5 separate regions of the Homo sapiens genome follow, and all the other regions are linked to region 1. Evidence: promoter capture Hi-C in 16 types of primary human blood cells and fetal thymus (Javierre and others, 2016). All regions are on one chromosome and are shown on one strand. The core of a region is centred on a gene start or on the middle of the fragment in contact, and the rest is flanking DNA. Distances in the headings are between cores, read along the strand shown. Region 1 holds the start of FAXDC2 (fatty acid hydroxylase domain containing 2). Region 2 overlaps FAM114A2 (family with sequence similarity 114 member A2). Region 3 overlaps MFAP3 (microfibril associated protein 3). Region 4 has its middle 41 kb from the start of MFAP3. Region 5 overlaps GALNT10 (polypeptide N-acetylgalactosaminyltransferase 10).

Evidence for each region. Contacts are between HindIII fragments. The CHiCAGO score rates a contact against its expected background, and 5 or more counts as called.
Region 2: a fragment that was not itself captured here is called in contact with the fragment with the promoter of FAXDC2 in region 1 in 6 of 17 cell types (total B cells, naive CD8 T cells, activated CD4 T cells and 3 more); the score reaches 6.8 in total B cells.
Region 3: a contact is called between a fragment that was not itself captured here and the fragment with the promoter of FAXDC2 in region 1, in 5 of 17 cell types (M1 macrophages, activated CD4 T cells, naive CD8 T cells and 2 more). The highest score is 9.0, in M1 macrophages.
Region 4: a fragment that was not itself captured here is called in contact with the fragment with the promoter of FAXDC2 in region 1 in 1 of 17 cell types (neutrophils); the score reaches 6.9 in neutrophils.
Region 5: a fragment that was not itself captured here is called in contact with the fragment with the promoter of FAXDC2 in region 1 in 1 of 17 cell types (activated CD4 T cells); the score reaches 6.3 in activated CD4 T cells.

What each region holds. Positions count from the first base shown.
Region 1 is chr5:154,849,321-154,851,902 of GRCh38, forward strand. It overlaps FAXDC2 (fatty acid hydroxylase domain containing 2), which reads right to left and starts at 1,283. Exons shown (of 9, transcript NM_032385.5): 1 at 1,163-1,283. The HindIII fragment of the contact is 21,500 bases long and covers 1-2,582 here.
Region 2 is chr5:154,009,100-154,011,681 of GRCh38, forward strand. It overlaps FAM114A2 (family with sequence similarity 114 member A2), which reads right to left. Exons shown (of 14, transcript NM_018691.4): 9 at 2,142-2,221. Among named protein-coding and RNA genes, the nearest start is that of FAM114A2, 29 kb to the right of the region's middle. The HindIII fragment of the contact is 1,219 bases long and covers 671-1,889 here.
Region 3 is chr5:154,049,069-154,051,650 of GRCh38, forward strand. It overlaps MFAP3 (microfibril associated protein 3), which reads left to right. Exons shown (of 3, transcript NM_005927.5): 2 at 489-949. The coding sequence starts at 655. Among named protein-coding and RNA genes, the nearest start is that of MFAP3, 11 kb to the left of the region's middle. The HindIII fragment of the contact is 1,031 bases long and covers 793-1,823 here.
Region 4 is chr5:154,078,525-154,081,106 of GRCh38, forward strand. No RefSeq gene overlaps it. Among named protein-coding and RNA genes, the nearest start is that of MFAP3, 41 kb to the left of the region's middle. The HindIII fragment of the contact is 5,875 bases long and covers 1-2,582 here.
Region 5 is chr5:154,197,385-154,199,966 of GRCh38, forward strand. All of the region lies in intron 1 of GALNT10 (polypeptide N-acetylgalactosaminyltransferase 10), which reads left to right. Among named protein-coding and RNA genes, the nearest start is that of GALNT10, 7.9 kb to the left of the region's middle. The HindIII fragment of the contact is 908 bases long and covers 839-1,746 here.

The DNA.
Region 1 (2,582 bases), core at 33-2,532:
AGGAAAGGTTAAAAATGATTCCCATGGGCCAGTTTTAGTAATACTCTCTTCACTCCTTTTGCTGCATGGTACTTGCACCCTTTGAGCTTACTGTTCTGCTTGATTGCATGTCCATGAGGCCGAGAATCTGCCTGTCTTGTTTACCACGAGATCCACAGAATCAAGCCCAAGCCTGGCATGTAGAAGATACTCAAGAAAGATTTGCCGAATAAATAAGAGATACACGAATCAAAAGCATTGCTTTTTGCCCTCAAAAAGTGTTCAACATTTGCTATGGAACATTTTAGCACCATTCCCTTGTGCTAATTACTTTCGTAACTAAAGTTAGAAGCTGATGCTCAGTGCATCTGTGTTTTAGCAAATTGAATTGAATCTGTATATCCCACTCAAAGAAATTTAATTGGAATTGCACATGAAACTGAAGCAACCCACAAATCAGCATCTTGTCTTGCTTGCCTTAAGCCCCAGAAGGTCCTGAAAGCCACTGTTCTATTGTTCATCTCCACCTACACACTTTACTGTATGCCCTTTACTCAATAACCTTCGTGGAGTGTTTCCATAGGTACTATCAAGCCACTAACGATTTCACAACTGGAGCCACTGTTGGTAAATCCAAGTATGTTGCATCAAAACAGTTTCAACCTACTTGTCTAGCTCATAGCCCACACATCTATCCAGAGACTTTAAAACTGTTGTATTTTGCCCCATACCTTCCTGGTGATGGCAGAGTAGAGATGAGAAGCAATTAGGCAGCAGTTGCTTCCCAACAGTCTCTTCCAGTTTGTTCTGCCTCTCATTTGAGTTCTGAATTAGGAGTTGCTCCTTTACAAATGGTTTTAAAGTCAAACAATTACTTGTCCATTACAATCACCTGTCAATTGCTAGAAAAATTAGACTACTGAGGAGGTAGATGGTACAAACACAGGCAGAGGATACAGACATTAGTAAGAGACAAGGAGGCGACTGCACTACAGCAATGTCCTAGGACAAATTCTAACCCTGCCATCTAACCCTGTTTAGAGGCAAATCTAACCCTGCCATAAGTAGAGAGGACAGGGTGGTGGCAGAGGTGGGAAGAGTGTTGTTTTGCCCTTACTTTAAGTGAACCTGGACATGTCCTGACCTTTGCAAACACCACCCCTCCCCCGTAGTTCCCACTTACCTCTGCAGTGGGCTGTGTCCAAGCTGCTGAGGTCCTTGCACAGGTCAAATCTAAGTTCTCTTCCCTTTCAGCCCCCGCTTTGGTGGCTGTTGCTGCTGCGGCTCTGCTGCAGGCTAACCTTGTTTTTGCTCGGGTGGGAGGCTGGCCATGGTGATCTCATTACAGAGCTGCGTACTGGCTCGGACCAGGCACGTGATGAAAAAAGTTTGGGTCTGTGTGGGCTGGAAACAAAACACCCTTCTTTCCAGAGGGCATGTCCTTAAAGCGGAAAGGGAATCTAAGCTCAAGCAGGAACTTGAAAAACGTGCATTTGGCCAAACTCTGGGCTTCCCTCCCCCTGCCCCCTTTTTTTCTTTTAAAAAATTTTCTCCATCATCTGCAACTTAAGAAAATGTCGCTGTCCCATAGGAGGAGGCAGATTCAAGAAAAGATGTGGGTGTCAGATAATGGCAGGTAGTACAAGTTGATAAAAAGGTGACAGAGACCAGAGGATCTCATTTTCTTTTTTTTCATTGCTTCTTTTCCTGTGGAGGGCAGGCAAGGGAGGAGAGATGCATCAGCTATTTCTAGTGAGTCTAGATGCAGGAAAGGCATGCCTGTGGAGGGTAAATTTGCACTGTGATTGAAATAGGGGAACTTAGGATACAGGACCCATGACATGAAGTGAGGAGCACTTTGGAAAAAGAGCTGCTTTTAAATTTCTGAAAACTTTTTAAATAAGCAAATGTGCAAATGATATAAAATACAATAGGGTCAAAAGAATGTACAATGAAAAGTCTTTTTTTAATTTCTCCTCAGTCCCCTTTTTTTCCTCCCAAGAGACAACCTCTGTGACCAGATTTTTGTATATCCTTCCAGAGCTTACCTCTGTAAATAGAAACATGTGTAGGCCTTGTGCTTCTCCTTTAGCAACAGCACCATAGTATGTTTGTTGTGCACCTTGCTTTTTCCACTTAACAATCAAACATGGAGATTGGCTAGGCATGGTGGTGCTCACCTGTAGTCCCAACTATTTGGGAGGCTGAGGTTGGAGGATCACTTGAGCCCAGGTATTTGAGACCAGCCTGGGCAGCACAGGAAGACTCCTTTCTAAAATAAACAAAACTCAGAAACTTGGCTGGGCACGGCGGCTCACATGTATAATCTCAGCACTTTGGAAGACCAAGACGGGAGGATCACTTGAGGCCAGGAGTTCAAGACCAGCCTGGGCAATGTAGCAAAACCCCATTTCTACTACATATACAAAAAATTAGTAGAGCTTACTGGCACATGTCTGTTATCCCAGCTACTGGGGAGGCTGAGGTGGGAGGATGGCTTGAGCCCAGGAGTTGGAGGCTGCAGTGAGCTATGATTGTGCCCTGCACTCCAACCTGAGTGACAGAGTGGGACCCTGTCTCTAAAAAACAAAACAAAATAAAAA
Region 2 (2,582 bases), core at 30-2,529, 840 kb before region 1:
GGCAATGAGTACACTTAGTACTCATGTCTTGGTCTATAAAACCAAAAGGGAATGAATCATGCTTTCTCAAAGAAATGTCTGGTTGCAGGGCTGGGGCACAGAAGGCATAAGATGAGTCTAGAATATCTTGTTATGCCAGAAAATAAGGAAGCACCCAAAAATGATGGAGGCATGCCACCTAGGAGCCAGCTTGAAAGACAAATTTGAACATCAAAATAATTAAGGACAGTGATGAATTACAAGCCAATGGGGGAAAAGCAGAACTCCATGAAAGCATACTGATAACAAATTAAAAAAAGAACAAAATGGGGGAGAAAGGAGAGGTCATGACTATTCTAGAATGCTGAAAGCCAACTGGTAAATCTTCACATTAAATATTGGTGCCAGAATCATAAATAAATGCTAGATTTAGAAGAGAAATTATGATGAATAGCAGGATATTTGTATGGTCTTACAGTATCTCCTCACAGAAAGTTTATTAGCAAGATAGGAAAATAAACTTTAACTGTACAGAACAAAATCAGACAACACATCACCAATAAGGGGCAGATGGATATCATGTACCTTTAGATGTGATACCCTGGGCAGGACACACCATCACTTATGGAGTATTTTGGCCAGGAATGTATAAACTGACATTAATCATGAGAAAGCATTAGAGAAACTCCAAAGCTTGTTTTTCAAAAACACCAACGTCATAAAAGACAAAAAGACAAAAAAAGACTGAAGAACTATTTTAGATTAAAGGAAACTAAAAGTACATGGCAACTAAATACAATCTGTGATCATGTACTGGCTCCAGTGGTAGAGGAAAAAGTTTGGTATTATTGGACATTATTGGGTCAACTGATGTAACTGAAATATGGAAAATAGATTACAACAAATTAGTACAACAAAAGTACTAATGTTAAATTTACTGAAGTTGATAGCTACACTGTGGTTATGTAAGGGAATATCCCTATCCTTAGCAGACACATACTGAAACATTTAGAAGAGCAATAATGTTTACAATTTACTCTCAAATAGTTACAAAAATAAAGTGTTTATCTATATATGTATACATGTATTTACACAGAGAAAGAACACATGTGAAAGCACAAATGTTTGAGCAAATGAAGTAAGTATTAACAGTACTGGATTTGCATAAAAGGTATACAAATATTGTTTGTGCTACTCTTGTAACTTTTCTCTAAGTTTGATATTATTTCCAAAATAAAAAGCACTATAAGATCAAAAGTGCTTTAGTAAAGTGTTACAGTAGAGGTGAGGGAGATGAGCTGCCTGGGGATGATCTAAAAGAGCTTTTTCAGAGAATGCAGCATTTTCGATGGGCATAGGAGAGTGGGATAACACACCAAACATCATAGTTTTTGCCCTGGGGGATGGAGACAAGGTGACTGGGTTGACTATGCAATAGCTCTCACCTCTCCCTGGCCAGGAAACAATGTGCACCTGCAGCTGACTGGTCCTGAAATGCTTCTCAAGATTGGTAGAGGTGGGTAAAGAGGTAGCAAGCAATCCATGACCCAGTGAACAGTGTCCCAAGAGCAGGCACTGGCTTATACTTGCCACAGAACCTCCCTACCCACTCTGAGCTTTGATTAAAGTCTCTCCACATTCCAAATATAAGAAAATAGTTCCAGAATCAGCACCAAAAATAAGGGCCTTGGTCATAATACTCTCTCATTTCCACACGCCAAATAGTCATTATCTGAGTCACTGGGCTCTGGGTAATGACAACCTCTAATCCCTATGGGCAAGGCCACATATCATCTCTAAATCATTCAGATCCCTGAGAACAGTGAGTCCTCGACAGAGGCTCACCCACTGGAATCATGAGGCTGGTCATCACTGCCAACTTTTAATGACCAACATTGTAGACTAAATTAAGCTTTCAGATAAGCAAAGCATCCCAAATGAAAACAGGTAAGGATGGGACACGTGTTGTGGGGCAGATGTGGCTTCAACACACTAACCTGGAGGAGCAGAAGGCAAGTAGATGCAGAACCCAATTCTGGGTATAACGAGAATATACCTTCGATTTTGGTGACACCTCTGCCAGGAATTTATAATCTTATGCTCTTTATCCACTACATTTTTACAAGTAAAATAATGAAAATCACCAAGAAGCAATAACTTACCCTGGCAAGTTTCTCTGGTTTGGAGGAAACGTGCAGCTGGGAAAACAGCTCTGTTATGTCCTTGGTAAAATCTTCATCCCCTAAAAAACCAAGTCCCATATAAAACACTCCAGAAAGACTGCTGAGGATCATGAGGTGGCAGGCGAGGAGGAAGAGGAGAGGAGTGGTAATAGCAGTGACAGTAGTAGTAATAACAATAGTAGCAGCAGTAATGTACATGAGCATGGTGCTTTAGTGCTTATAGAATCCTTTTACGTATATCAATAAATGCTTCAATGGGCTTGAGAGAAAAGTGCCATTATTCCATGTTAGAGATGAAGTGATAAAGGCTTGAAGACATTAAGTGACTTCCCCAAGACTGCATAGCAAAGATTAGTAGTCAAACCTTAGTCTTCCTACTCCCAGTCCAAACCCTGTGCTGTGCTTTTTGCATTATATCCA
Region 3 (2,582 bases), core at 58-2,557, 800 kb before region 1:
TTTTGAGCTCCATGGTTATGATTATGATATGCCAGTTGATTTACATTATAACAACAGATGGTAATGGTGCAGGTTGAAATAAAAGATCATTAAGATAAATATTTTAGCCTTCATTGGCTCCCTGTTGCATAAAATTTGTCAGAATGAAATAGAATCATGGCATTTCAGAATTGGAAGAGTCCTTAGAGATTATCTCATCCAGTCCCTTATTTGACAGAGGAGAAAACAGAAACCCAGAGAGAATGCTGCTTGCCAAGGTCGTACAGCTAGTTAGTGGCAAAGCTAGGACCAAAATCTAGGTCTGCTATTTACCAATTCATTGCTTTTTCTGCTGTCTCTGTGTGAGATTTTTAGGTACTGTTCCATCTAATTACTCCCCAATGTCAGCACCAATTATTCTAATTAACATCTATTCATTCTGGAACATACGCACTTTCACCCCATTATGAATCTCAGTTGGTTAAACTTTGTATCTGGCTTTCTTTTAGGTTCTCTACTCACATCTTTTAATCTTGAAGACTAGAAAATATAACTGGATCTACCACTTGTTTGGAAAATTTCTCTACCAAGCAATAAATTACCCGCTGTGCTTTTGTTGTAGTGTAGAAGTTTTTGAGTTCTCCAAATCTAAACAAGATTTTGTCCCATTTTCCCATGAAGCTACATTGTTGCTTATTCACTTTAGTGGCAAGTATTATTGTGCCAGCTGCTTTTGTTTTGGAAGATGTGGACTTCGACCAAATGGTTTCACTGGAAGCAAATCGTAGTTCTTACAATGCATCCTTTCCCTCAAGCTTTGAACTCTCAGCAAGTTCCCACTCGGATGATGATGTCATCATAGCCAAAGAGGGAACTAGCGTTTCAATTGAGTGTCTTCTCACAGCCAGTCACTATGAAGATGTCCATTGGCACAATTCAAAAGGACAGCAACTGGATGGCAGAAGCAGAGGTAATTGGTCAGGGTATAATTAATCAAGGTTACTCATTTCCTGTTCTGTCTTCTTATTTTTTAACACGTTAAACAAAAAGTCTCAAAGATAAGGTGCCAAGGTGAATAGTTTAAAACATTTGAAAGGTCTGGAGTGTTGTACCTATCAGAAAATGCAAAGTAATTATAATTGTTTAACCAGAAGAAGAAAAAAAAGAATCATTCTAAATTTAAAAGATGTTCACATGATGACAATGAGCTATTTTCTCTCCTGATCAGTTGGTTTTCTTCTTCATTGAAGGTAGAGTAAATCAGGGCTGCTGCATACAGCTGTACAGGTGGTATACAACACAACTCTGGGAGCACCCTTCACCTAGACTACTATGTCAGTAGTACAGTGTGGTGGCCCTGTGTGAATACATCCAGAAGGTTTTTGGCTAGACTTAAGAAAATTTGTTATAAATAAAAAAGTTTTGCTCTGAAATTAGTTACTATAAACTTTAGAGGAAATCCAGGACATTTTTGAAAATGAGTATCAATCTGTGCATAAAACTTTGACGTCAGGTCTCAGAGAATTAGAAGGGCACTATGGAACTTGTAAGCCCTTCCAGCTCTTTTTTTTTTTTTTTTTTTTTTGTATTCTATACCTTAATTTACTGGAAATGAGAAATTTTTTTTTGCATTTTTTGTTTATGTCTTAAAAATCACATAAACATAGTGTGTTCAAGGTCTACTTTTTGACAGATTTTTATTTAATTTTCCTATTCATGGATCTGTGAATATATCTTAATCCAGACTACTCCTAACCAGTGTTCTGTTATAAAGATCTTTTTGATGAGTACTTGAGTTATAATGGACCTCAAAAAGAAATCACCATGAAAAGCCAAAGGGATGAAGCTTAAATTCTAAGATCCTCACAAGCTACACTTTCAGAAATTTTTTTGTTAGGAAGATAGTGTAGCCTTCTGAAATAGAAAAGGATATTGGTTATTCATATTAGGCTGGAAAACACAAAAGGAGACAGGTGATACTTCCTTCAGACATATGCACTATTTTAATCTATAGACTGAGTGACTAGTCACCAAGGGATTGAAGAGTTTGAATTGTTAGGGTATTTTTAATCAGCATGTTTAAAATACATAACTATTGAATTAGAGTGATACCTGGAATGTGTACTTTGAACATGATTTGGGGTTCCATATTTGAACCCACTGAACCAGACTCCTATCTTCTCTGGGCTCTACGATATCCTGACCAAACACCTCTGAGATCTGAATTATTCATTCAGTGTCATCACTGTAGACTGACTGCATAAACAAAGCCTTAGGTTAAAACAAGACCAGCCAAGTGGAATGGCAGTTTTATTTTTCTATTTTGCCTTTACTTTGAAAACCACTAACATCTATCATTGATGCTTTCAGCAGCAGCTCTGGAAAATTGTATTAAATTTTATGAATCTCAAGTGAGAGGAGTTTAAAGAGCATGTCAGTCTAGTATAAGGTTCATAAATCTTGAGCTATTATCAGCAAGTGAGCTAGAGAGTTTAGATTGTGGTTGTAGTGCAATGGTTGATGAATGGAGTCTTTGTAGTTCATCATACCTTGGATTCAAGTGGTGTCGTTTTCATAGCTCTAAGTTCATAGAACAGAAGCTT
Region 4 (2,582 bases), core at 44-2,543, 770 kb before region 1:
TTCATGTTTGTGGAACTGATGTCAATTTGCTGGCTATGTGACATTGGGCAAATTACTCCACCCCACTGAGCTGCAATTTCCTCCTGTGTAAAAAGAAAATAATACCCTTTGCAGGGTGAGCAGCAAACCCAAGTCATTCTAATTCCCAAGCCCATGCTTTTAACCTTTATTCTGCTTCAAGTTCAAGAGCTGTTTAGTCTCATGGCCATTTGGGCAGCAGTTAAGATGATAGCAGGTAGTGAGACCAAAGTTTCTGGACTAGAACCTACGTTTCAGGTGCATGGGATTGAATTCAAAAGATTGGGATTTGGGCTAAGGTATGAAGTATGACGCTACCTCATTCGAAAATAGTGTACAAAGCATCTGGCCTGTTTTTTGTTTTACATAACTATATCCCTGTAGCATAAACCATGGCCCACCAGCCAAAACCATCCTGCCACCTATTCTGGTAGCGTTTTACTGGAGCAGAGCTATGCCCATTAATATATGTATGCAATATGTCTGCTTCCTTGGAACTATGGAAGATTGAATTGTTGCAACAGAAACTGTATGGACTGCAAAGGGTAAAATAATGTGCTATCTGACCCTCTACAGAAAAAGGTTGCAACCCTGCTCTAGGGCATAATACCACTTTAAGTTTTAATAATGATAATTACAAGAATACGTGGTGCTGAGTGCTTACTCTATGCTGAGTGCCGTTCTATGGCTTTATATGTATATCTTATTTGTACTTGCAATAAATCCATGATATACACAATTATTCCTATTTTATGAGTAAGGAAACAGACAGAAAGAGGTTAAATAACTTGCTGGAGATCCAGTGGCTGGTAAATGGCACAGTTGGGATTCTAACCCAAGTAGTGTCAAGTATTACATTTCCTTGGAAGTTTGCAAACACATTTTCTTTCCTGATCAACTTGACCACTCATGATATGAGAGACAATTTTAGATGGTTCATAAACACCTTATTAAGAAACATCCTCTCCTATGGTGAGAAAGCCATTCCCTTTCAAGTTCACTTTAACATGACAAATCTCCCTTTTAACAGAGAGAGTGAACAGTCTTTTCACACACAGCAGTACCTTGCTAAAATTTAACTTCTAAATTAAACTTTTAAACTTAAATTTTAAATTATATTTAAAATTTAATATATTTAAAATGTATTGCTTCATTTCATAGCATGTATTTTTTGTGGTCACCTTTTATTTGTGGAAAACAATCCTTGTTTTCTCTTCACAGCAATTTCCTTTCAAAAGAAATTTATTTAAGGATAAAAAAATACAGTCGATTCAGATATTAAGACCATGTTAATAATGGTGCCGAGGGTGTGTAAATATGACACAAATCATGACCGTGGTACAGAAATGAATGACAGAGACCAGGCGCAGTGGCTCATGCCTGTAATCCCAGCACTTTGGGAGGCTGAGGCAGGAGGATCACTTGAGGTCAGGAGCCCAAAACCAGCCTGGCCAACATGGTGAAACCCCATCTCTATTAACAATACAAAAATTAGCTGAGTGTGGTGGCGCACACTTGTAATCCCAGCTACTCAGGAGGCTGAAGCAAGAGAATTGCTTGAACTCAGGAGGCAGAGGTTGCAGTGAGCTGAGATCGTGCCACTGCACTATAACCTGGGCAACAGAGCAAGACTCCATTTCAAAAAAAGAAAAAAAAAAAAAAGAAATGAATGACAGAGATAGGAAGCCCTGCCCAGAGCACTGGCCCAGGAGTAAGGTGTCGTAGCCCTCAGCCCAGCCAGCAGCAGTTTGGTATATGGCTGTGGACAGATTGTCCCCTCCCTGAGCTCAGATTCTCTATCTATTGAGTAAGGAGTTTAAATTAAATTATCTCTAACATTCTGTGGCATCCTAGTTTCTTCTTCTTGGCCTGGAATTTACTATACTTTAACTCGAGCCAATATTAAATGAGACGTGTTAGAGATCCACCCTTTCAAGCCCCGTAAAGACAAAGGACTCCACTGCACCCACTATGTCTTTTCCTCTTTGAGTGAGTCTATTAATTCCTATCTAGATTCCTGCCGAAAAAGGTGAGGAGATAAATGCATGTAGTGCAGGATTCAATTTGTGCTTCTTGCCTAGAAATTAAACAGGTCTGGGTTGGTCCAAGGTGTTTACAGGAGAAAGATAAGTTCTTTGACATGTCCTCATTCACAGCGATTCCACCTGGGCCCAGCAGGCCTTCTGATGGGTTTTCTCTCCCTTTGGAGGGCTCTGTGTCTGCTCACCCAGAGACAGCTGTGGCCATACCTCATGATGGCTGGGGAAAAAAAAAGAGAAGGATTTTTATGAAAAATTACAAGGTGCAGCACTGCAAATGGATGCCAAGCCTATATGAAAAGTAACCTGACTAGAAGCAGCAAGAGTGGAAAACCCCATTCTTCTCACATTTAAAAAAAGTTGTGGGGTAGAGGATGCCCAGGATAGGCCAGGTGCAATAACTTATCCTATTAATCTGCTATATTTAGTTCTTTTACCCCACATCAATCCTGAGAAGGAGTTATCATCATCATTTATTAATTTTATTACACTTTATAGTATAGATTAAGAAACTGAAATTCAAAA
Region 5 (2,582 bases), core at 43-2,542, 650 kb before region 1:
GTGGAGTGTTCATACTTTGGAAGCTAGAGGAAGCTAAACAATTCTGCTTGCTGTGGTGGGTGGGTGTGTATTTATGCGTGTGTAGCTTTCTCTCCATGTGTCTCTCTTCTCTCCCTCTTATCTTTGAATGGTTCCTGTTTGCTGCCCTCTGCTGAGTGTAGATAGGAGAGAAAAGAAAAAAGCAGGCCTATTTTTTTCCTTCCCTATGGCTTTAAGAGAATGCTGAGCTTCAGATGTTAAATTGTCTTCAGTTTTCTCAGGTGATGAAAGCCACAGCATAAAATGATACTGATCCAAAGAATGATGATGATATGGCTGATAATGAGGTTGATAATGTTAATAGTAGTAATAGCAGTTACCATTTATTTAGCACTTACTCTGCTAGGTCCTTTACCTGTACATCTGTTAAATATTGTTGTAACCAGGTAGGAAAGAAGGAGGGAACTGAAGCTCGAAGAGGGGCAGGTGCTTGCCCAAGGATGCACAGCCTGTAGTGGTGGAGCTGGTATTTGAACTCTGACCTAGTGCTGAGTCCTTAACCACCATACTTCCTCCATATCTGAGCAGGACAAAGGACCTGTCTTCCACCCCTGCCCGTTAAGCCCTTCCTGCAAGCCTGGACATCTGAGCAGGTGAGAGGGACCATTGCCCTAAGACAGCCTCTTCAGTAGCTGAAGTGGAGCACATAAGGTCATGTGGTGGTGGTGTGTGCTGGAAGAGAAACCTCTACCTCAGCCTCCTCCTGTCTCCGTTCCTCTTGGTTTGAGGCATGTGGGGCTGCGTATAGTGCTCTAGCTTTGGAGCTACACTGCCTGATTCAAAACCCGAGGCTTGGGCAAGCTTGACCTGTGTGCCTGGAATTCTTGGTCTGTAAAATGGTAGTAATGTTAACTGTGGCAGAGAGTTCTCTTGAGGGTTCAGTGAGTCACTGTGGGTAAAACCCCAAACACAATGCTTGGTACAGAACAAGTGCTTGGTAAACATGGTGATGCCGCTGCCTTTGTGAAGTGCCTCGCCTATGGCAGGGACTCAATTCTCTGTGGCTTCCCTTTGGCGGAGGTAGGGAGGGCTGCATAACATTGTCTTTGTCTAGAAGGTGAGCAATTCGAAGATAAGTGGTTGGCTTAACAGCACAGGGTTCAGAAGAACTGGAAGAAGCCAGGTGGGTGCAGTCTCTGATTATTGGAGGTGGGAAGGAAATTGTGCATGCAGAGGCTGCTCTTGGTACCCCTCTTCCTGAAACTTCGGAATGCGAAGCAATTGTTGGGGATGCCTTCTCAACTCCCACCCTGGGACAACCCAGACCCTCTGTATCCTTCTAGATTCAGCTCATAGCCTGCTGCCTCCAGGAAGTGTTCTTTGGTTACTCCAGCCCCCAGGGGTCACTCAAGGGTCTTAGCTCCTCTGAGCCTTGATTTTCTCATCTGCCTACTTAGATCAGAGGCCCTCTAGAAGATTTCTAACATCCTTCTTCCCTGCAGCCTTGCCCCTAGACCTGACTAACTCCTGCCAGGGCAGCCTAGGTTAGCATTCTTCCCAACCAGGGCCCGGAGACCTGTATATAAATCTGTCACGCAATGCTGTAATTGTTTTTAATCTGTCCAGACTGTCTGCTTCCTAAAGGCAGGAACTAACCTCTCTCTTGGTCACTCTTGTTTGCCTAAAATATTTGCTGAATGGCTGAGGGGGTGAGTGAGTAAGTGAATCATATGGTTGGTACTCAGTAACTGCTGGCTGCATGCTGGAAGCTTAGCCTTAGGAATGGTTCTTCTTGAACTTCAGGGTGCTTCACAATCCCTAGGGAGCCTGTTAAGGATGGTGACACCAGGATCCATGCCCAAAGAGCATGAAGGGGCTGGTTTGGGCTTGGCCAAGGATCACATATTTAACAAATCCTACTGAGGGTCCAACAGGGAACTCCTCTCCACCCACCTGACAGGAGACAGACCTCTCTTTCCCCAGGGACCCACTCCATTCTCCCCAGGAGTGCTTCAGGACCCGCCCTTGAACTTCTGTTCCTGGGAAGTGTGTTTATCTGCAGCTTCCCAAGTTGTCAATCAGCACCCACAGGGGAGCTCTGTGGTACTTTTAGCAGTGGCACTGTATCTGATGCAAGCAGATCAGGCTCCAGTTCAGGACAGGGATGGGAGGTGCACTTTGGAATCCCTCTCCTGTGGGCTGCGAGGATTGGCTGGGGCGGTAGAGCTTTATTTTCCTTTGATGCCCACAGTCTGCTGCTCTTCCAGGATGCGTGCTCTGCCTTCCTGCCATGGGCAAGGATGAGGTAGGTGCCTCTACGTGGGTGTTGGGCTGAACTAGGGGGTCTCTTGGGAAGGGTTAGTATTGTGGAGACCCTGTAAACCTCTCCCTTGTACTGGAGAGAGCAGAGGAGAGAGTGTGGAGTTGGGAACCAATGTGACCTGATCCTCAGGCCCAGCTCTGCCACTTGCTGGCTCTGTGCCTGACCTCTGGGGCTTCCTGCTCCTTCTCCTAAAATGAGCAAAGTCATCACTACTTCCTAGTGTCATGGTGATGATTAGATGAAATTAAATAACAGTTGTGAGGATTGAGGTACAGAGAGG